Linked DNA regions of Homo sapiens: all the other regions are linked to region 2. The links are contacts of gene promoters, found by promoter capture Hi-C in blood cells and fetal thymus (Javierre and others, 2016). All regions are on one chromosome and are shown on one strand. The core of a region is centred on a gene start or on the middle of the fragment in contact, and the rest is flanking DNA. Distances in the headings are between cores, read along the strand shown. Region 1 holds the start of TRY-ATA1-1 (tRNA-Tyr (anticodon ATA) 1-1). Region 2 holds the start of PLCD4 (phospholipase C delta 4). Region 3 overlaps WNT6 (Wnt family member 6). Region 4 has its middle 14 kb from the start of CXCR1. Region 5 overlaps LINC01494 (long intergenic non-protein coding RNA 1494). Region 6 overlaps PNKD (PNKD metallo-beta-lactamase domain containing). Region 7 has its middle 13 kb from the start of CXCR1.

Region 1 (3,192 bases), core at 599-3,098, 360 kb after region 2:
CTCCCGAGTAGCTGGGATTACAGGCGCACACCACCACGCCCAGCTAATTTCTTTGTTATTTTTTTGGTAGAGACGGAGTGTTTCACCATGTTGGTCAGGCTGGTCTCGAACTCCTGACCTCAGGTGATCTGCCCATGTTGGCCTCCCACAGTGCTAGGATTACAGGCGTGAGACACCGCACCCAGCCTCAACTCTTTTTTTTTTTTTTTGGAGACAAGAGTCTTGTTCTGTTGCCCAGGCTGGAGTCCAGTGGCACGATCTCAGCTCATTACAACCTCCACCTCCCGGGTTCAAGCAATTCTCCTGCCTCAGCCTCTGGAGTACCTGGGACTACAGACGTGCGCCACCATGCCCAGCTAATTTTTTTTTGTATTTTAGTAGAGACAGAGTTTCACCACATTGGCCAGGATGATCTTGATCTCCTGACCTCGTGATCCACCTGCCTTAACCTCCCAAAGTGCTGTGATTACAGCCATGAACCACCGTGCCCAGCCAAAACTGTACTTGTCTCCTTCAAGCTGGAATCGAACCAGCAACCTAAGGACGTCTCCTACTGAGGAAGTAGCTATAGTCCTCTGCTCTACCAGCTGAACTATTGAAGGGACCTTAACTCTTGATATCAGAATTCAGTCTTATTTTTAAGATTTAAGAAAAATGGGGAAAAAAAGGAAAGGATTACTGTACAAAAATAGCATATGGCCTGCTCTGTAATTAATACCCTGTGACATCCCTCCTTTAGTCACTGCAATGGCAACAGGAACAAGTTGGTATGCCTGCGTTTGCCTACCTTAAAATGTTAACCAAGGTTCTGTGCAGATTTAGGTATTCTGCTGTGTGAACTCATTAAAGCGGCACAAAAGCAGCAAGTGCACCCTGCTCACCAAAGGTAATGTAGCCAATGTTGTCACCCACAGCGGCGTCTGTGTCTTTCAGCTCCAGAGGAGGTTCCCTGTGGCTAAAGAGGACCTGTGGGGCTGTGTGGCTGGCTCTGCGTCCTTCTTTGAACTCCTGCCAAGACAAAGCAAAAGCAACCAGAAGAGAAGTGGGTGTAAGATGAGTGGCAACTCAAGCTATAGGGTTTGTTCTATGTGGTGTGACCTTTGTAGCCCTCCAGACCAGCAGGAGGTTAAAAATAAACTACACCAAACCTGAAATATGACAAGTGCTAGCTGCTACCACTACACTTCAGATTCAAACGGGAGAGACTGCAAAGTACTTAATAAGTCAGATCTTCAAAATGTGATGAAAAGTAGTGATAATCCTTTTCCTTTGCACTAACATAGGTGATAAACTACCATACTTTCTCTGGGCTCTGGGACTTTGCATGAGTCTTTTTTCACTGAGGATCCTGTTGCTATTTAGAATTCATCAATAAAATCTTTAGAGCAAACTTAAGCTCTTCTTGCGGACAGAAGACAATGGAATGAAAGAAGCTGAGTTGTCTTGGTGCTCATAAAGGAAGCCCTTCCTTCTATGTTCCAATCTCCAAACCTGAAGCTTCTACAGTCCATACATTCCTATGTAAATAGACAAGTAATACAAGGCTTCTCTCTCTCAGCCAGATCTGCAAGAACAGAAGTAGATTTTCTAGCAATGCCAGTAAAACTGGATAATCCAAATTCATCAAGTGGGCCTTCCAAGATGATAGACAGCAGGAGGATGCTGCCAAGGACTCTCCAAGGTCTCTTGTTTTAGGAGTTCTGAAGGCATGGTTACACAGCCATGTGGCCTGCGTGCCCTTCTACTGCTGCTCAAATACTGCCTCCTAATACCATCTCCAACAAACCCAGGCAGGTACTGCTCTCTTGCTGGAGCTGCCATGTCTTTTCTACAAACCTCTACTATGATATTTTACCATTCATTAATGTATCTGGCTCCCCTACCAGGTTATGAGTTCAAATCAAAGATCCTGCTTAATTTATCTTTGTAATTTATTCTTCTGTCTTTCAAAGAGGCTATGCAGCACATGCCTTGCTGAGAGAAAGCAAGTGCTTCTACCCTAGCTGGTTTAGTATCATCACACTGTACAGGAATAGGCAAGGGCTGTTTCCAGTTGCAGGCAGGAAGAATAAACACTGATTAGCAAGCCCTCTCGACAATTAGTGGCAAAAGAAAGATGATGGCTGAGGAGCCCCAATGCCCAGCCTGGGACCTCACCTATTTCACAAACTGCCTCTCATGCTAACACTACCAAGCTTTAAGTAGGAAAAGAAATGACCATCAACTGGGTTAGATTAGTCCCCTTTTGAACAGATTTTGTTCCCCGAAGGAAAAATATCCAAAAAGGAAGGGAAGGAGTCAAGATTATCCCAAATGGAAATTTCTAGAGCAAAGCTTCTAAAATCGCCCTTCTCTAGAAAACATTTTTTATTCTACAAAGGGGTTAAGAAGCTTTTTAACTTTTACTGGTTTTACTTTTCGGTATTAAGGAATTAAACAGAACAGATACGTAACTGTTGGCATTTTCTTGTGTCTGTTAAGTGTCTCCAAGGCTCTAATTCACAGGTACATGTGGTATTCACAATGAGATGGGGTATTTATAAACCAGTGGTGACTTATTAGCACTCATTAGTTTTGTATATGGAAAATAACATATTTAAGGCTCGGTCAACGATACGTTTCTGGCTTGGGCCTATTCTTTCTTTCTTTTTTGAGACAGGGTCTCACTCTGTCACCCAGGCTGGAGTGCAGTGGCGTGATCTTGGCTCACTGCAACCTCCACCTCCTAGGTTCAAGTGATTTTCATGTGTCAGCCTCACGAGTAGCTGAGATTACAGGCGTGTGCCATCATTCCCGGCTAATTTTTGGCCTTTAAAGTAGAAACAGGGTTTCACCATGTTGGCCAGGCTGGTCTCAAACTGGCCTCTAGTGATCCACCTGCCTAGGCCCCGCAAAGTGCTGGGATTACAGGCGTGAGCCACTGTGCCTGACTGGGACTATTCTTTAGATTCTCTGATGTCTTTGCTTCTCCTCAGTTCTCTCTCCTAAATAAAGCTTAAACAAACAAACACACCCAAACAGCCCTCCATCTTCATTGGCATCTTTGTTATACGTAATCAAGCAATATTGCCTTTTTACTCTCCTTCTGGCTAGGATGTCTTTTGAGCATCAGATTATTTCTCTCTTCCAAAGTACTATTTATCATAGGAAGTTCGGAATAAATCCAAATATATACAAGGCATTTAGCATATG
Region 2 (3,012 bases), core at 476-2,975:
CTGATGCAGGTGCAATGAGAAGAGAAGGAACAAAGGGTTTGGGAGTGAGGGCACTGGGAAAAACACAGAGGATGACATCTGATAATAAGAAAGGTTGGTCTTAAATATTAACTCATAGACACATATATGGAGATCTTCAATGATATGGTAATTACCTCTCTAATACAGATACGAAAATAGGGACACAAAATGAGATGGGAAGTAGCCCAGAGCTGCAGAGCGCAATTTGGTCCTCAATTTCTAAGAGACTTCATGTCACCTAGAGATGGACTTTGGCAGAGTTACCAATGGCACCAAGGAGATTACAGTGGGATTCAGGGTGTCTCAGGTCTCTCTGAGGGGCAAGAAAGAAGAGAATCATTTTGTCTACTCCCTTGCTTCTGAGAAGGATTATGCCTAACCTGGTTCATATAGAGGACAAATTGGCTCTGGTCACAGGTCACAGAATGTTGGAGCTTGAAGGTTCTTTTTTTTTTTTTTTTTGAGACAGAGTCTCGCTGTCGCCCAGGCTGGAGTGCAGTGGTGCGATCTTGGCTCACTGCAGGCTCCGCCCCCCGGGGTTCACGCTATTCTCCTGCCTCAGCCTCCCGAGTAGCTGGGACTACAGGCACCCGCCACCCACCTCGCCCGGCTAATTTTTTGTATTTTCAGTAGAGACGGGGTTTCACCATGTTAGCCAGGATGGTCTCAATCTCCTGACCTCGTGATCCACCCGCCTCGGCCTCCCAAAGTGCTGGGATTACAGGTGTGAGCCACCGCGCCCGGCCAGTTCTTTTATAACACATCTAATCCAGACATTCCCAGCTACATCAATAGCCTCTGGAATGTCTTGAAATTGAGATCCTTAGCCCTACCCAAAAATCTACCAGATCAGAGTTACCCAGGGTGGGGCTCAATAATATATTTATTTTTAACAAGTACACTTGGTACACAGGCAAGTCTGGGAAACCCTAAACTCTCTCGTATCACAGATCTGGAAGTTGTGGCTCCAGGTCCCGTAGCTAGTTAATGGCACAGGCAGAACTAGAAGTAGGTTTTCTTACCAACGTAGCACTCTGGTGCACTAAGAAACTGCTCTGGCCCATGGAATAGGCAAAGAACAAGTTCTTTAGAGAACTTTCTAAGGGACTTTCATAACTCTCTCTATTACCAGGGATCTCTGATTCCCCATGGTTCTTGGCCAACCCCTATTTTGCAACCCTCAACAAACTGTTAATGAATCTATGCTAAAGCTTAGCTACTCCAATTTTTTCTTCCCTTATTGGGGGTGGAGTTCACCTCAGGAGTGGCTAGGGTTGGCACTTCTGGCCCTGCATAAGCTAAGAGGTACCTCATATAAAGGGCGACTGACACAGCCAGGAGGAAAGCTGTAAGGATAAAGGAGGATAAGCTAGAGAGAACCAGGAGGTGGGAGCCCTGTAGAGCTGTTGGGATGAGGAAAGGAGTCTAGGGTACAATTTAATCAGGGTGGATAAGCATCTAGAGGGCAGAGGTAGGGACTCAGGGAAGACAGAGCTTAGAGCAGAGGGTAGTCAGAGCTTCCAGATCCTTACCGTGGGCAGGAGAGCAGAATAGCAGTCCTGTGTTTCCTGTGTCTGTGAGCTGTGCCTCCCGAGCTCTGCGATGCTGTGGGATCAGGAAGCCCAGCCTGGCTCCTTTTCTCTTTTGCTCCCCTTGCACTGGCTTGTTTCCTCCCCTCTTCTACAGCAGCTGGCTGCTGTGACTGGCAAGTTATAGCCGGAGGGAAGCAGTAAGAAGGGGAGAGGTGTGAGCTCTCTCCAGTCCAGCCCATCCAACTCTTAAAGGCCCAGGACACTGGTCAATGTGAGGGAGTAGTGGGGGTGGGGTGGGGAGAGAAGGATTAAGGGCAGCACATCTCCAGGGAGGAGCCTGGCTGCCCTTCATCTTGATGCCAGCCCTCATTGACCCCAATCCCGCAGTAGCTCTCAAAGTGAAGGGAGTGTCCTCAGTTGCAGTGCTCTGTGAATCACTGCTTTTCATTCTGGTTCCTGCATGTAATACGGCTGTTTTTGCCCTTATTTAATCTGGCTCCTTTCCATAGTGTCTGTTTCCACTGGCCTGCTCCTGTATCTCTGAATCCTGCCTGCAGGGCACTCACTGTAGCTCCGTCCCACAGGAAAAGAAAGAAATAAGATGGGAAAAGAGGAAGACGAGGAGAAGGGGAGGACAGGAATGATGATAGAATGTAGAGGGACAGATAGGTTAGAATCTATGTATATTTTAGGCACTCATTAAATATTGAAAGAATGCATAGATGAACGTGTGAAACAGCTCATTTTTTTTTAAACATCCATTCGTTCCTCCTACAAGCATCTGTTCAGCACCTCTGGGTTATAAGTCATAGCCCTCAGAATGGAGGTAGCACCTTCAGGACATACATGCATGTTTATAAAGATGTGTGCAGAGATGAAGCATAGGCTCAGAGGGGAACTGTGTGAAATGGTGTAATTTTAAGTGTGCTGACGTCTGGCTGCCTATCATGGTTTCCACAAGCATCCCTCAACTGCCTAATATTTTACCATTAGTGATTATAGCTACATTTTTTAGTCCCATTAAAATAAAATCCTCCTAAGTGATTACTATAAAAGTCAGGATAGTGGTTACTGTTGGGAGGGGGAGGAATTGTGGTGAGATGGGACACAGAGGGGGCTTCTGGCATAGCTAGCTAAACTCTATTTCTAGTTCTAAGTGCTAACAAGGGTCTTCACTTAATAATTTATTAAGCTATACATTCTCTTGATATATTTTCTATATGTGTTTTTAAATTTATTTTTTTAGGTCTCATTTAAAATATCATATATCTGTGTTAACTTTTGAAGGCTTAATGATTTTAAATATACATATATGTATATGTATATGTGTGTGTGTGTATATATATATATATATATATTTTTTTTTTTTTTTTTTTTTTTTTTTGAGATAAGAGTCTCGCTGTTGCCCAGGCTGGAGTGCAATGGCGTGATCTTGGCTTACTGCAACCTCTACCTCCCG
Region 3 (3,269 bases), core at 193-2,692, 270 kb before region 2:
CCAGAGTGTCTGACCCCAAAGCTCATTTTTTGTCCTCCATACCTTGATGGGGGAGTCATTCCCCATTGCAGTATTTGGACTGGAGGAAAGTTGGAGGCTCTGGGTCCTGGAAGTTGGGCTATGCCATCCCTCTTTCTCTCTGGAGGAAGATGAGAGCTCAAGCTTCAGCTCTGGAGAATCCAGAACTGCCCTCTGTCTCCTCACTTTCACCAGTAGCTTCCCAAGAGGAACCAGAAGGAAGGAAATATTGTTGGGTGTCAAGAGGTATGCATCAGAAGCTTCTGATGCCCCTGTCCCTTTAAAGAGGAATTGCTAGTTCTTCTCCAGCTTGCAGATCCAGGACCTAGATGTGTGACAGGAGTGAACAAGAAGAATGCCAAGGGGAGATAGCGAGTTTCCAGGAGAGGCCAACCTGGTCGGGAGATAGGGACCCAGGTGATAGCCCCTGAGGTGCTAGTTCTAGCAAAACCACCTTCTTCTGGAGCCTGGCAGCCTGAAGATCAGTCTCCCCCAAAACTGTGGGTCCAGCCCTGGTGGTTTAAATATCTTTATTGATACTAACCTCACCCACCATCCTGTGGCCAGCAGTTCTGGGGAGCCCAGTATCCAGAGGCCTTTAGACTGGCTTTTTTCCAGTCTAAAAAACTGTTTCCTCCTAGAGGCCAAGGGGAGGGAGGGCCTGTACAGTGTCCTTTAAACGCTCCCCGAGCGCCTTTTCGGGGCCGTCTGGCGCCCTGGGCCTTCGTGGGTGGGCGTTCCTCTCAAGCCCCTCGCCTCACCATTTCCAGAGCCCTGGGAGTTGGGCTTTGGCAGGGAGAGGCTGGGCTCGAGCGGCGAGAGGCGCCCGGTGCCGGTGCCCTGAGGTCCCACAGGTGCGAGCCACCGCTGCGCGAAGTCAGTCTAGCGGCCGGGCGGCGGGTCACAGGCAGAGGCTGAGCTCCTTGCGCACACGGCAGCGGTGGCACTGTACTACGCAGCACCAGTGGAAGCGGCACAGGCAGTTCTCTTCGAGCTGCACGCTCTCCTGGCGGTGCCCGCGGCCGCAGCACAGCAGGTCGCAGCCGCTGAGGTCCGGGGCGCTGCTATTGCAGGCGCGACCGCGCGTGCCGGGGGAGCCGGTGCGTCGGTTGGGGGCGCAGAAGTCGGGCGAATCGGCGGCGTAGAGGAGGTCCGCTCGGCCCGGCGGCTTGAGCGTGCGGACGGCGGGCAGCAGGGCCTTGCCGTCGTTGGTGCCCATGACGCGTGAGGCGCCGTGGAAGCGCTCCAGCAGCCGCGCGCCCACCTCGCGAAATGGAGGCAGCTTCTGCCAGCAGGTGCGCAGCGCGCATGATCCCGACAGCCCGTGGCATTTGCACTCGGTGCGCGTGTGGCTCCGCACGGCCTGCGGGAGGCAGAGGGGCGGACGCATGTGGACAGGTAGGGGGTGCAGGGAAGGGCCCAGCGGATGGACAGAAAATAAGATTGGGAATGGGAGGTGAAAGGAAGAGAGGAAAATGCAGACAAAAGGAGACCGCAAGTTCAGGGGGAGGAAATCAAGGAAAGGACAACTCGGAGGGGAGGAGCAGGAGGAATGGTGAGGATGGAGGAATATGATGATGACGAAGAGGGGAGACGGGGACAATATGCAGCGCAGAGATTCCAGGGTCCAAAGGCAGGGGGTGGGGGAGAAAGCAGAATGGACAGCAGGGGTGAGATTCTCTTTGGAGGAGGGGAGAGGTGGCAGCTGTCGAAGTCTAGCTCTCCTGCCTACCTGGCCCCCTCATTCCTACCCCTCACGGCCCCCAGGCCGGGCTGAGCACAGACGCAGAGCCAGCCTCCTGGGCATCTGTCTCCGTCACCCCTCCCCAACCCTCTCGGCAGGTATGTGGGCCTGTCCGGACATTCCTCTTCAGGCCCCCTCCTCCCCCTGCCCGATGCCTCAGGCCCGAACCCTAGAGGACACGGTATGTATGGCGATGTCCCTGGAGAACGCTAGAACGGAGGCATGGGGTGCAGGAGGGCCCGCTGGGAATGCAGTACTGAGAGTGGAACCCAGGCGGCCTCTCCCCTAGTCACTGTCTGAAGCAGGGTCTAAGATTCCCAAACCCACCAAGCGCTGATGGTTCAGAAGACCCAAGAAAATCATTTCTGGAAGCTCAGAGTCCAGGGGCTAACCTGACCATGTGTCCCACTCCCACCTCCTGAGTCTGCCCTGCCCCCTCCTGGAACCATCACACCCAGACAACCTTCTTGCCCCTGAATGAGAGCTCCTGGGGCTCTCCTCGTTACAGAGGGGAGAGGAGAGGCTGCCATGGCTCTGGGCAGGTGAGACCTGGGCTGGTGTTGCTGGGCAGCCAGTTGGCAAATGCCCAGAATTGGTCACAGCTGTCCTGGCCTCCACCTGACTCCCTCCAACCTCCACTAGGATTGGTTCCTTGTCCTTCGCTCTTTTCCATTGCCCCTCAGACCTGTTCTAACTCTTTCTAGGCCTCTCTCACTCCCCCTGGCTTCCCTGTACCAAAACCCCAGACCTTGCATTAGCTTCTATCCTGTCTTTCATCCCCACCTTTGTTTTATTCTCCTGCCCCTGCCTAGGCATCCAGACCTCCTACCCACTGCAAGCTTTGCTTCACCTGTCCTGTCTTGAAGCTGTGCCCTCTCTGCCTGGGGTCACTAAAGACCCTCAGTCCTATTCCCTGAGTGTCCCTTCCCCCATTCTGCCCGCTGTACCGTCCAGCATCTGGCCTTCTCAGACCCCCACGTGACTCCTTCTTGGAGGCTGGACACCTCTCCTCCCACATGTCCATCCATGCTTGCAGCCCATCTTTCCGCCCGTGCGCACTCCCCCACACATTAACGCCCCCCTCCACCTACACACCCTCACTCCTGCCAACACTTCCTCAAGCACACTCCTGCGCGCACACTCACATTTCCGCACACACTCACTCCATCCTGCCCGTACGCACCAGCCTGCCCGCCTCGTTGTTGTGCAGTTGCACCAACGCGCGGATGTCTCCGCGTCCCCGCTTGTGCCGCGCGTCCATAAAGAGCCTCGACTTCTCGTCCCCGAAGTCCACGTCGTCGCCGCAGCCTCCCCACTCCCAGGCGGCGCTGCCTTCCGGGGAGCCCGCGGGGCCAGGGGGTCCGGGGGTGCCGGGCAGGCCGGAGGGCCGGGGAGGGGCCCGCCCGCGGGGCGCCTGGCAGCCGCACTGCAGCAGCTCGCCCATAGAACAGGCCTGCGTGACGGCGTGGCTGGCGCCGGCCGCAGTGATGGCGAACACGAAGGCCGT
Region 4 (3,274 bases), core at 82-2,581, 430 kb after region 2:
GTGCTGAGATTACAGGCATGAGTCACCGTGCCTGTCCTAATTTTTTAAAATTAAAATTAAAAAAAATTTTTTTTTTGAGACAGGGTCTTGCTCTGTTACCCAGGCTGCAGTGCAATGGCTTGATCATGGCTCACTACAGCCTCAACTCCCTGGGCTCAAGCAATCGTCATGCCTCAGCCCTGCAAGTAGCTGGGACTACAGGCACACACCACCATGCCTGGCTAATTTTTGTATTTTTGTAGAGACAGGGTTGCGCCATGTTGCCTAGGCTGGTCTCAAACTTCTGGACTCAAGTGATCCACCTGCTTCAGCCTCCCAAAGCATTGGGATTACAGGCATCAGCCACTGTGCCTGGCCAGGCCCCTTGTTTAAATGCTGGAGAAAGCTTTTTCCTTTCTTCCTTTGTCTTGCCCTTGACTGGAAAAAGGTGTGGGGATGTGTGTGTATGTGTGTCTGTGTGTGTAAATAAGTTTATTGATGAAGACACAAAGTCAAGCTTCCCCCAATTCCCACCCTTCCCAAGAACACATCCCAACAAGAACAGAGGAATGAGACTCATTCTTAGGGCAACATTTACCTATCCTCGTTTCCCCATTTCCCACCAGAGTCCCAAGCTTTATGACACAGACACATGCAGCAGACTGGGGTAAGGACAGACACTCGGGGAATCTCTGACCAGCAAAAGAGCTCTGGATGTTGGCTTCCCTTGCCCTTTGTATGACAAAGGCATTCAGAAGCAGAGGAGAGGGGAATGTGGGGCAACTCCCACCGGACATCCCCAGTTTGGCCAAAAGAGCTGTGGCAGAGGCAACAGTTCTGTTTGTTGGCAGAGAGGTCCTTTGATAGGAAGTAGGATACTTCCTCCGCTCAGGGGTGTGATGTGAGGCAGCCTCCTCAGGGAGGTAAGCATTCATGGATTAGCTCAGCCAGGGCAGCTGAGAACAGGAGCTGTTACCTGTCACTGGTGGGGAAGCTAAGAGAAGCCTCGCTTCAGGGCATGAGGGACACATCCTGATACAAAATGGTGTTGTCCTCTTGCCCTGACATACATGGTTTCCTTGGGAAGTATAGTTTGCTTTGAGATGAGAACACTGTATTTGCAGTGCGAACGTTCTTCACCATTTATAGCCATTGATTCCACAAAAGAGTCCCAACAAGGGAACTTTATCACCTGCTTTTTCACCCCACACATCACTGAAACTGCCTTTGGAAAATTATGACTGAGACAGTGAAATAGATCTAACTTAATCAACTCCATCTTGCTGCTAACCTCCAAGCTGTCATTGTTTATTTCTGGGCATAGGCTGAACTAACTTTGATAGAGACTCAGTTTAGAGTTTATAGTTTAAAACAAAGACGATAACAGCCCTTTCCCAAAGCAGACCTTCTTGCCTGGGGACTAGACGGCCTTTGTAGGGCTAACATTAGCCAAAAGATTAGAAATTATAATTTAGGAGTCATGCAGCTGGAGGCTACAAGATTCTGACCCTCCCTAAACCGCTCCTAAGATCAGTGCTTGAGACATTTTGCAGACTCTGCACTTGATGGATCAGCTGCACCACCCAGATCATAAACTGGCTCATCTGAACTTGTGGCCCCCACCTAGGAACTGACTCAGCACAAGATGACAGCTTCGACTCCCTATGATTTCGTCCCTGACCAATCAGCACTCCTCGCTCACTGGCTTTCCCCACCCACCAAGTTTTCCTTAAAAACTCTGCTCCCTGCTTGTTCCAGACTGACTGGAGTAATAATAAAACCCCAGTCTTCCACACAGCTAGCTCTGTGTGAATTCCTCTTTCTCCATTGCAGTTCCTCTGTCTTGAGGAATTGGCTCCATCTAGGCAGCGCGCAAGGTGAACCCCTTGGGTAGTTACATCACTGACTGTCCACCTCCCATACACAATCCTGTGCTATCTCCTGTTGCCCACGTGCCTGAGGGATGGTGAGCAAGGGACATAGTTCCCTTCCCAACCCCAGGCATTCTTCTCTTGGAGAGTCTCAGGGCTTAGGAAACGGTGTTGGGGGACCCATTTTCCCAAGCTTTGTGACTGGTATGAAGTGGGGTCATTTGAGACACGATGAGGCTGGAGGGTAGTTTTTGCTCTCGTTTTCTTCGAGTCCTCCTCTGAGGCCAGCACGTTAGATCTGAGTCCAATATGAGGCCTCTGGACGCCAGCATGCCTCTCATTTGAGCAGGGGCATCTGAGAAGAGCATTCTCGGTCATGGACCCTGAAGACTGAGTGCCAGGCAATGCCACAAGTGCCCAAGATCAAACAGTGCTACATTGCTAACAGGTTGGTGTTTGAGGCACGAAACATTCTTTGACAAATCATAACCACTGTGTTAAGGTGGGGATATTTCACATCCCCCCATCTTTTCAGAGATGACAAGAACTGCTTGAACCTCTGGGGTAATCTTCATATGCCCTGCAGCCCAAGTAACAAGAAGAAAGAGCAGATCGAGAGCTGAAGGGATAAAAAGAATTTGTGGCATCTCTAAGCTCATTTCATCGCTGTATTCACTGGACAGAGTGTTTCTTATTTGCTTTTAATGTTGCAACCCCTGGGGCACAGGGATACTTGTGGGGCAAGTTCAGACTGTCATGGGAGCCTGGGCCCTGATGTTGACCTGCCTTGTGGCTGCACCAAAGCTACCTCCAAGGGATGAGTGTCAGGCCTCTGAGCCCAAGCCAAGCCATCGCATCCCCTGTGACTTGCACGTATACATCCAGATGGCCTGAAGTAACTGAAGATCCACAAAAGAAGTAAAAATACCCTTAACTGATGACATTCCACCATTGTGATTTGTGTCTGCCTCACCCTAACTGATCAATGTACTTTGTAATCTCCCGTACCCTTAAGAAGGTTCTTTGTAATTCTCCCCACCCTTGAGAATGTACTTTATGAGATCCACCCCTGCCCACAAAACATTGCTCTTAACTTCACCGCCTATCCCAAAACCTATAAGAACTAATGATAATCCACCACCCTTTGCTGACTCTCTTTTCGGACTCAGCCCACCAGCACCCAGGTGAAATAAACAGCTTTATTGCTCACACAAAGCCTGTTTGGTGGTCTCTTCACATGGACGCACATGAAATTTGGTGCCGTGACTCGGATCGGGGGACCTCCCTTGGGAGATCAATCCCCTGTCCTCCTGCTCTTTGCTCCATGAGAAAGATCCAACTATGACCTCAGGTCCTCAGACTGACCAGCCCAAGAAACATCTCACCAATTTCAAATCTGGTAAGCGGCCTCTTTTTACTCTCTT
Region 5 (3,319 bases), core at 205-2,704, 310 kb before region 2:
CTCTGTCCTCACCCAAATCTCATTTCGAATTGTAATCCCCACATGTGGGGGGAGGGGCCTGGTGGCAGGTGATTGAATCATTGGGGTGGAGTTCCCGCTTGCTATTCTTGTGAGAGTGAGTTCTCACAAGATCTGGTTGTTCAAAAGTGTGTGGCACTTCCCTCTTCACTCTCGCTCTTTCCTGCTCCACCACGGTAAGACATGCTTGATTCCCCTAACCCCTCCACCACAATTGTAAGTTACCAGCCATGCTTCCTGTTAAGCCTGTGGAAATGTGAGGAAATTAAACCTCTTTTCTTCATAAATTACTCAGTCTCAGGTAGTTCTTTATAGTTAAAATGGATTAATATATCATGTGTTGATGAAGTTCCTGTTATTCCCTCCTTACCCTCCTACGTGGATTATCTAAAGATATTTATTTCACTCCCACAAAAATGTTTTGTTCTCACCCATTCCCGAGAGCTGAAAGTAGGCTGTGGGAACTTTGAGTGAGAAAATAAGAGCAGCCTACTCCCCCTGACCATATTCCTGCCTGATGGCCAGTATTTGGGTGACACTTCACCCTGCCACCAATTTTTTGAGTCCTATTTCCCACAGACTCTGTGTTAGTCCATTCTTGTGCTGCTATAAAGAAATACCTGAGACTAGGTAATTTATAAAGAAAACAGGCTTTGATTTGGCTCACGTTTCTGCAGGCTGTACAGGAAGCATGGTGCCAGCATCAGCTTCTTGTGAAGGCCTCAGGAAGCTTTCAATCATGGCACAAAGTGAAGGGGAGCCAGCACATCACATGGTGAAGAGAGGGCGCAAAAGAGAGAAGGGGGAGGTCTCAGATTCTTTTAAACAACCAGTTCTCATGTGAACTAACTGGGAGAGAACATCACCAAGAAATGGTGCTAAGCCATTTGTGAAGGATCCACCCCCATGATCAAATCACCTCCCACCAGGTCTCACCTCTAACAGTGACGGTTACATTTCAACATGAGATTTGAAGAGGACAAACACCCCAAACATAACAGACTCACTTGTGACTTTGCCCTGTAAACTTTCAGGGAAAATGAGGTCACTTCTGACCCAGAGACTCTGTCATCTTACCCTCTCCTGGGGGTCTTCATCTAAAGAAGTAAGTGTAAATTCCTTACTGATCCAGTTTTGTATGTGTATGTGTGTGTATACACAAAATTTACTATATAGAAAGTAAATTCTTCTACTATATATATGCATTATATATATACACATTATAATGTATATATATAATGTATATATAAATATATATAATTGTGTGTGTGTGTGTGTGTGTGTATATATATATATATATATACAGTAGAAGAATTCAGAGGTGTTAGAAATTATGAAGAGGGGCCAGGCACGGTGGCTCACGCCTGTAATCCCAGCACTTTGGGAGGCCAAGGCGGGCGGATCACGAGGTCAGGAGATCGAGACCATCCTGGCTAATGCGGTGAAACCCAGTCTCTACTAAAAATACAAATATTAGCCAGGCGTGGTGGCGGGTGCCTGTAGTCCCAGCTACTCGGGAGGCTGAGGCAGGAGAATGGCATGAACCCAGGAGGCAGAGCTTGCAGTGAGCTGAGATCATGCCACTGCACTCCAGCCTGGGCGACAGAGCGAGACTCCATCTCAAAAAAAAAAAAAAAGAAAGAAATTATGAAGAGGATTATAAGATAACTACCACAGAAGGCAGGTGGAAGTGGTCTCTGTGGAGAAGGAAGAATTGGGGAAGAGCCCACAAGGAACACACGAGACCATCGTTATATTTGTTTCTCACCCTGAGTAGTGGGTACACAGATGTTCACTGGACTATTAATCTTTAAAATGTACATATATATTTAACACATTGAAGTGTACATGATGGATTTCATAATTTTTTTAAAGTAAAATATTGTGAAAGGGAAGGGAAGGAAGGAAAGGAAGGCAAATGAAAGGAAAAGAAAGGAAGAAAGAAAGAAGGAGGGAGGATGGGAGGAAGAAAGAAAACTGGATTTGTTAATAGGAAAGAATATATCAATGTCAAATCCCCATTCTAGGCTAGCATTATTCAGCATCCAGAAGGATCATCTCAACAATTACTCAGTGGATCAGCTTATTTAATTGATGACTGTACAGTTAATTCATGCTCAAAAATCAAACATTCTAAGCTTCTTTCTATGAATATCTTCCAGACCAAGATTATTCATCTCATGGTTTTAAAGGACAGAATTTCCTGGAGAATGTTGGTCCTCTTGTAGGTGCTACTGCAGCAAAGTTGAAACAATCATACGTCAGACCAAAATACAAGTCAGTTCTTCAGTTTTCACTAATTAAAATTAACTCTGTCTAAATAAATCAACTCTTACCACCTTCAGGATTCATATCTCAAGTAAGAGACATTCTTACTGACCAATAACACAAAATATCCCACCCTCAGCACTAGGATCCTCAGTTTTGAATTCTTTCAACCATTTTTGTCAAAAGCCTTGCTGTAGCCAGGTGTGGTGGCACATTCCTGTAATCTCAGCTACTCGGGAGGCTGAGGAGGGCAGATCCATTGTCCCTAGGAGTTGAAGGCCAGCCTGGGCAACATAGCAAGACTCTGTCTCAAAAAAAAAAAAAATACATGACAACAATAACATGAAAGCCAGGAGAATGCTAAAATGAATTAAAGTGTCATAAGGTCCCTAGAGTTATTTAGAAAAGGGTGAAAGTACTAATTCAAGGGTGACCTAATTAAGCCAAGGATGCATGCTATAATATGTGGGTAATAAAATAACAATAATAGCAAACACGTGACTACTAATTTATAGAGGATGAAAATGAAATAATTAGGAAAATATTGATTGATCCAAAAGAAGGCAAGAAAGAGGTAAAAAGAAACAAAAAACAGATGTGAAAAATGGAAAAAAATGGCAAAATGGTATACTTTAAACCCTACAGTATCAGTAATTACCATAATATAAATCAATTAAAGGCAAAGATTTTCAGACTGGACAAGAAAAAAAAAACAACTATATGCTGTTATAGAAGACACACCTTAAACATAAGGATGCATAAAGGTTGGAAATAAAGGGATTTTTGGCCAGGTGTGGTGGCTCATGCCTGTAATCCTAGCACTTTGGGAGGCTGAGGTGGGTGGATCACCTGAGGTTAAGAGTTCAAGACCAGCCTGGCCAACATGGTGAAACCCCATCTCTACTAAGTATACGAAAATTAGCCGGGTGTGGTGGCACACGCCTGTTATCCTAGCTACTTGGGAGGCTGAGGCATGAGAAACACTTGAACCCGGGAGGTGGAGGTTGCAGTGAGCTGAGATTGTGCCACTGCA
Region 6 (2,893 bases), core at 159-2,658, 260 kb after region 2:
GTGAGGAGCCCCTCTGCCTGGCGGCCACCCCATCTGGGAGGTGTACCCAACAGCTCATTGAGAACGGGCCATGATGACGATGGTGGTTTTGTGGAATAGAAAAGGGGGAAATGCGGGGAAAAGATAGAGAAATCAGATTGTTGCTGTGTCTGTGTAGAAAGAAGTAGACATAGGAGACTCCATTTTGTTCCGTACTAAGAAAAATTCTTCTGCCTTGGGATGCTGTTGATCTATGACCTTACCCCCAACCCTGTGCTCTCTGAAACATGTGCTGTGTCCACTCAGGGTTAAATGGATTAAGGGCGGTGCAAGATGTGCTTTGTTAAACAGATGCTCGAAGGCAGCATGCTCGTTAAGAGTCATCACCACTCCCTAATCTCAAGTACCCAGGGACACAAACACTGCGGAAGGCCGCAGGGTCCTCTGCCTAGGAAAACCAGAGACCTTTGTTCACTTGTTTATCTGCTGACCTTCCCTCCACTATTGTCCTATAACCCTGCCAAATCCCCCTCTGCGAGAAACACCCAAGAATGATCAATTAAAAATAAATAAATAAATAAATAAAAGAAGACATACATGTGGACAACAAACATATGAATAAAAGCTCAACATCACTCATCATTAGAGAAATGCAAATCAAAACCACAATGAGATACCATCTCACACAAGTCAGAATGGCTGTTATTAAAAAGTCAAAAAATAACAGACGCTGGAAAGGTTGTAGAGTAAAAGGAACGCTTATACACTGTTGGCGGGAGTGTAAATTTGTTCAACCAAAGTGGAAGACAGTGTGGTGTTTCCTCAAAGACCTAAAGACAGAACTACCATTCGACCCAGCAATCCCATTACTGGTTATATACCCAAAGGAATATAAGTTGTTCTATTATAATGATATGGTGTGGCTTTTTGTCCCCACCCAAATTTCATCTTTTTTTTTTTTGGGACAGAATCTCCCTCTGTTGCCCAGGCTGGAGTACAGTGGTGCGATCTTGGCCTACTTCAACCTCTGCCTCCCGGGTTCAGCGATTCTCGTGCCTCAGTCTCCTGGGTAGCTGGGATTACAGGCGCTCACCATCATGCCTTGCTAAGTTTTGTATTTTTAGTAGAGACGGGGTTTCACCATGTTGGCCAGGATGGTCGTGATCTCCTGACCTCGTGATCCGCCTGCCTCAGCCTCCCAAAGTGCTGGGATTACAGGCGTGAGCCACCACGCCCGGCCCTTTAATCATTTTTATGAACTGAAAACCAGTGTCACTTGTCAAAAATAAATATTGAACCCAAATATAAATATAATGAAAACAAAACGATGTTGTTAAAGCTTAACTACAGACATTTCCCAACTAAAGTATGAACCTGGATCCCGGGTCTTTCTTTCCAAAGACATTAAAGACAGACTAGTGCCAAGACCGTGTCCTTGAAGTCCAATTGATTGCTGTGCTGTGGCCATGTACAGCCACCCTACTTTGGCCAGTGGTACACTTGTGTATCTCAAGCTTTGGGAAACATTGAGATAAGCAAATCGTAAACCCTGAACAAATGCCCATGGGCCTTGGGAAGAACATATTTTAGGCATCATTTCTCTCTCTCTTTTTAAAAAAATTTTTTTTTTTTTTGAGACAGAGTCTCATTCTGTCGCCCAGGCTGGAGTGCAGTGGTGCGATCTCGGCTCACTGCAACCTCCGCCTCCTGGGTTCACGTGATTCTCCTGCCTCAGCCTCCTGAGTAGCTGGGATTATAGGCTCCTGCCACTATGTCTGGCTAATTTTTTGTATTTGTAGTACAGATGAGGTTTCACTATGTTGGCCAGACTGGTCTCGAACTCCTGACCTTGTGATCCACCCGCCTCAGCCTCCTAAAGAGCTGGGATTATAGGTGTGAGCCACTGCGCCCAGCCTTTGGGCATCATTTCTGATCAAAACTCTTGAAGTGCCTAACTGCAAGTTAGCAGGCCTGGAACTGAGATGGGAAAACTGTGAGAAAGTTCTCTGCTGTTTTCACTCATGTAGCAACAAAGACAAGCTGTTGGGTGATCAAGTCTTGATTAAATCATTCATTCATTCAACATTTATTGAGCGCCTACTGTGTGCTAGGCACCGTGCTAGGCGCAGAAATACAGAGATGCATAAGATACAGTCCATGCCCTTAAGGATTCACAGTCTAGAAGGGGAGACAAACATGTAAACAAGTAAAATACAGTGTGATAAGTGCCACAAGAGAAGCATTGACAAAGTGCAGAGGTAGCCTGGAGGGGAGGGGCACAGGGGTTGCCTTCCTGGAGGAGGGGGCCTTTGAGGGGATCGTGAGAGATGAACTTGCCAGGCAGACAAGGCAGGAGGAGCAGGGGAAGGCATTCCAGTCGGAAGAAACAGCATGAGCGAAGGCACAGAGGCATGAAACTGCATGTCTTGCTTGGTGAGTGGGGAACTCTAACTAGTCTGGTGGTATTGCTAAAGTGTACTAGAGGCTGTGGCTAGAGAAGGGGGCAGAGGCCAGATCATGAGGGGAAACTGAGGGCAGGGGCATCTTGGAGGGTCACCAGAGGTGAGCAGAGCCCGAGGGCAGGCTTTGACACAGGAAAAGAGGGCTCCTGGCTGACTCAAGGTACACCTGCCTGAGGACCACAGGGTTCCTCGCTGTGGCTCCAAAGGGATCTCGACCCAAGAGTAGAGGAGCAGCAGAGCTGGAGGTGAAGCAGAGGGGTCGGGCCAGGTCTGGGACCCAGAGCTGCCATGCACTCCCGCGCTCTCACAGACTTCTGATTTCCAACCTGCACGTCAGAGCCCCCTCCTGCCAGCCGGATGGGGGCCTGGATCCAGTGGGAAATCACATGGGAATATGGCTGGCAAACTGCAAAGGGCCAGATGAGTGTCAGGTTACAGAATAAATCTTTACT
Region 7 (2,975 bases), core at 60-2,559, 450 kb after region 2:
ATTTGGCCTAGGCAGGCCTCTTAGAAAAAGAGCAAATGCCCCTGGGTTGGGGGAATTCTTTCAGTCATTAAGCCAGGGATGAGAATGGAGTTTTGAAATTGTTCTCCAGCATAGGATCCTCTTTTCTAAGCCTTCAACTTCATGAGCAAATGGGCACACTCCAGTCCAACGTGTAAGCTCAGCCTCTCACTAACAGGTAGGTCTGTGCTCACTGGTAGGACCGCACTTTGGACTTAGATGCTAACATTAATCTGTTGGAAGATTTTGCAAGGAGACAGAGAGAGGAGCAATCTGGGATTCCTGAGGGCTTTGTTGCAAGGGAAGAGCAACGAGTTGTTGAAAGGCACCCAGGCCGGGTGCAGTGGCTTACACCTGTAATCCCAGCACTTTGGGAGGCTGAGGCGGGTGGATCACTTGAGGTCAGGAGTTTGAGACCAGCCTGGCCAACATGGCAAAACCCTTTCTCTACTAAAAATACAAAAATTAGCCAGGCATGGTGGCGCACACCTGTAGTATTCCCAGCTACTGGGGAGGCTGAGGCAGGAGAATCGCTTTGAGCCCAAGAGGTGGTGGTTGCAGTGAGCTGAGATCGCACCACTGCACTCCAGCCTGGGTGACAGAGTGAGACTCTGTCCCCCCCCCCCCAAAAAAAAAAGACCCAAAGATCAGCTGCTTCCGCCCTATTTCCATGAAATTGTCACTTTGATCCCTGAATTCTATTTTAGATTCTACAACACAAGGAGAACCCTTATCTAAATCCTTATATGTATAGTGTGTTTCCCGTGATATCATAATTGAAGACTTACTCTGTGCCAGGCACTGAAAAAAACACTTTTTACATAAATTATTTTATTTAATGGTCATCAAGACCTGATGGTAGGAATTATTATTATCCTTATTTTACAGAAGAGGAAAATAAGGGCCAAAGAGATTAAGTCCCTCACTCAAGATAACAGCAGCGGGTAAGTGGCAAAACTGGAGTTTAAGTCAAGGACCAGCTGCCTTCGGAGTCTGAGCTCTCAACTGCTGTGTGACACACAGAGAGGTGCTGTGGTGGAGAGAGAGCCACAGGGTGAATTTGCGGTAGCCTAGGGCTTAGTCTATCCCGACTTGTGTGATCGTGAGCAAGTAATTTAACTTCTCTGGACCCCTCCCTCCTTGAAGGGATGGCAGCATTGGAAGCTTGTTGTCAAGGTTCAGGGTAATGTATGCCAGGCTTTCAGGGTAGACTAAGGTCTCCATAAATGGCAAACATTATTTATCACAGCAGAGAAGTCTTGGAAAGGCAAGTCCACTGGGAAATCGGGATGTAACTCCAAATCCTCTAACTGTGATGGCAGTGTTTCCTACATGATGTCATAGCTCCAGGGAGTTGGGAGGAGAGTTGAGATATACCTCTTTCCAAGAGATGTTTTGAGATGAAAAGATAAAGCTTGGAAAGTGATCAAGGTATATCCTTGTTCCTGTGACATCCATTTTTTTCTCTTCTGGATTGCCCATCAGCTCACAAGCCTGTTGTAGGAGTTCCCATCTTATAACAACCCTCCCTTGATCCCACATCTCATCAGCTACGGTCCTATTTTTCTGCTCCACTTTGCAGCTAAGGTCTGAGGCCCACTGCTCAAAGGGTGCTTCAAGTCTGTGAGGGGAGATTAGCAACATTGAGCAGAGTCTCAGTTTGAACCTAAACTGGGCTCACTCTGGAATTCACGTAAGTCAGTGCAAGCAATGTCCCTGAAAGAAATGAAGGGTTGAGAGCTCTTAGGGAGGAGCTCATTTCTGGGGGTCAGGAGGAAAGCACACAGGCCTGCTAAAGGCAATGCCTCAGGGTTGGGGCTTAGGGAGACCTTGAGGGCTACAGGAGTTGAGTGCTGAGGCCAAGACCAACCCAGGTCCAGGGCTTCTCACCTAAGTAGTAGGGAGATGGGGCTGGGAGTGAAAGTGAAAAAAACTGGGGAGATTTTGGCAGTGCCAGCAACACACTCAGGGAAACCTGGCCCTGTTCCCCTGCAGGTGGCCGGGTTGGAACTGGTAGAGGGTGGAGGCAAACTTGGCAAATGGGTACAGGCAGCCTCAGGGATGCATGTGGGAGGAGGGACCTTGGAAGGCTACCTGAGGTGCTGAGTCACAGGCTGACTCATGGGGTACACAGGTACAGAGTGTGAACACAGAAAGAGCCAAAAAAAGGGTAAAAAAAGAAAAAAAGCACTCATATTTCCACCACTCAAAGTCAACCCAGTGCACATTTTGGTTTATTGCCTTCTAGCATTAAAAAACAATAAAGAGTTGATTTTTCAGAGTGGTTTTAGGTTCACAGCAAAATTGAACAGAAAACCTTCTAGTAATTTTTCTTTACTTTACTTTTTTTTTTCTTTTGAGTTAGAATTTTGCTCTTCTCGCCCAGGCTGGAGTGCAATGGTGTGATCTCGGCACACTGCAACCTCTGCCTCCTGGGTTCAAGCGATTCTCCTGCCTCAGCCTCCCGAGTAGCTGGGATTTCAGGCACCTGCCATCATGCCCGGCTAATTTTTGCATTTTTAGTAGCGATGGGATTTCACCATGTTGGCCAGGATAGTCTTGAACTCCTGACCTCAGGTGATACACCCGCCTCGGCTTCCCAAAGTACTGAGATTAAAGGTGTGAGCCACTGCGCCCAGCCACATTTTTTCATTGCGGTATTTCTTCTTGAATGTTTCAATGTCATGTGTCATAGCATCACAATGTCTTGTCAGTACAGCTTAGGTTCATACTATTTTCGTTGAATAATTTAATGCAGTTTTCATGTTATTATGTTTCAATCTTTTTTCATTTTTAAAAATCAGCCTACATCATGCTTTGATTTCATGTTATTATCATATTTAACATTTCCTTGCCTGTTATATTCCTCCCACTTAGTGATTTTCTCCGGCTTTCTCCTGGCCTCTTGTTATTTTGGTCACTTTCCTCTCTAGCTTGCCATCCCAAGGTTGTGCATG

The links. Contacts are between HindIII fragments. The CHiCAGO score rates a contact against its expected background, and 5 or more counts as called.
Region 1: a fragment that was not itself captured here is called in contact with the fragment with the promoter of PLCD4 in region 2 in 1 of 17 cell types (erythroblasts); the score reaches 5.5 in erythroblasts.
Region 3: a contact is called between a fragment that was not itself captured here and the fragment with the promoter of PLCD4 in region 2, in 1 of 17 cell types (M0 macrophages). The highest score is 5.2, in M0 macrophages.
Region 4: a fragment that was not itself captured here is called in contact with the fragment with the promoter of PLCD4 in region 2 in 1 of 17 cell types (erythroblasts); the score reaches 7.5 in erythroblasts.
Region 5: a contact is called between a fragment that was not itself captured here and the fragment with the promoter of PLCD4 in region 2, in 1 of 17 cell types (M2 macrophages). The highest score is 6.1, in M2 macrophages.
Region 6: a fragment that was not itself captured here is called in contact with the fragment with the promoter of PLCD4 in region 2 in 1 of 17 cell types (total CD8 T cells); the score reaches 5.6 in total CD8 T cells.
Region 7: a fragment that was not itself captured here is called in contact with the fragment with the promoter of PLCD4 in region 2 in 1 of 17 cell types (erythroblasts); the score reaches 5.3 in erythroblasts.

The regions. Positions count from the first base shown.
Region 1 is chr2:218,243,236-218,246,427 of GRCh38, reverse strand. It overlaps ARPC2 (actin related protein 2/3 complex subunit 2), which reads right to left. Exons shown (of 11, transcript NM_152862.3): 8 at 882-1,008. It overlaps TRY-ATA1-1 (tRNA-Tyr (anticodon ATA) 1-1), which reads right to left and starts at 602; the gene lies at 510-602. The HindIII fragment of the contact is 698 bases long and covers 1,500-2,197 here.
Region 2 is chr2:218,606,612-218,609,623 of GRCh38, reverse strand. It overlaps PLCD4 (phospholipase C delta 4), which reads right to left and starts at 1,725. Exons shown (of 16, transcript NM_032726.4): 1 at 1,554-1,725. The HindIII fragment of the contact is 12,670 bases long and covers 1,235-3,012 here.
Region 3 is chr2:218,871,496-218,874,764 of GRCh38, reverse strand. WNT6 (Wnt family member 6) reads right to left here. Exons shown (of 4, transcript NM_006522.4): 3 at 2,946-3,269; 4 at 532-1,381. The coding sequence ends at 920. It also overlaps a transcript of WNT10A not described here. Among named protein-coding and RNA genes, the nearest start is that of WNT10A, 7.7 kb to the left of the region's middle. RefSeq lists an enhancer at 2,164-3,110 and a silencer at 3,189-3,258. The HindIII fragment of the contact is 2,323 bases long and covers 281-2,603 here.
Region 4 is chr2:218,179,285-218,182,558 of GRCh38, reverse strand. No RefSeq gene overlaps it. Among named protein-coding and RNA genes, the nearest start is that of CXCR1, 14 kb to the right of the region's middle. The HindIII fragment of the contact is 1,429 bases long and covers 617-2,045 here.
Region 5 is chr2:218,919,494-218,922,812 of GRCh38, reverse strand. LINC01494 (long intergenic non-protein coding RNA 1494) reads left to right here. Exons shown (of 5, transcript NR_110238.1): 3 at 1,053-1,123. It overlaps LOC124906119 (a long non-coding RNA gene), which reads right to left. Exons shown (of 2, transcript XR_007088090.1): 2 at 2,089-2,252. Among named protein-coding and RNA genes, the nearest start is that of LINC01494, 9.5 kb to the left of the region's middle. The HindIII fragment of the contact is 1,408 bases long and covers 751-2,158 here.
Region 6 is chr2:218,345,936-218,348,828 of GRCh38, reverse strand. It overlaps PNKD (PNKD metallo-beta-lactamase domain containing), which reads right to left. Exons shown (of 10, transcript NM_015488.5): 10 at 2,036-2,893. The region is part of intron 2 of CATIP-AS2 (CATIP antisense RNA 2); the gene reads left to right. Among named protein-coding and RNA genes, the nearest start is that of MIR6810, 5.5 kb to the right of the region's middle. The HindIII fragment of the contact is 175 bases long and covers 1,321-1,495 here.
Region 7 is chr2:218,152,065-218,155,039 of GRCh38, reverse strand. No RefSeq gene overlaps it. Among named protein-coding and RNA genes, the nearest start is that of CXCR1, 13 kb to the left of the region's middle. The HindIII fragment of the contact is 250 bases long and covers 1,185-1,434 here.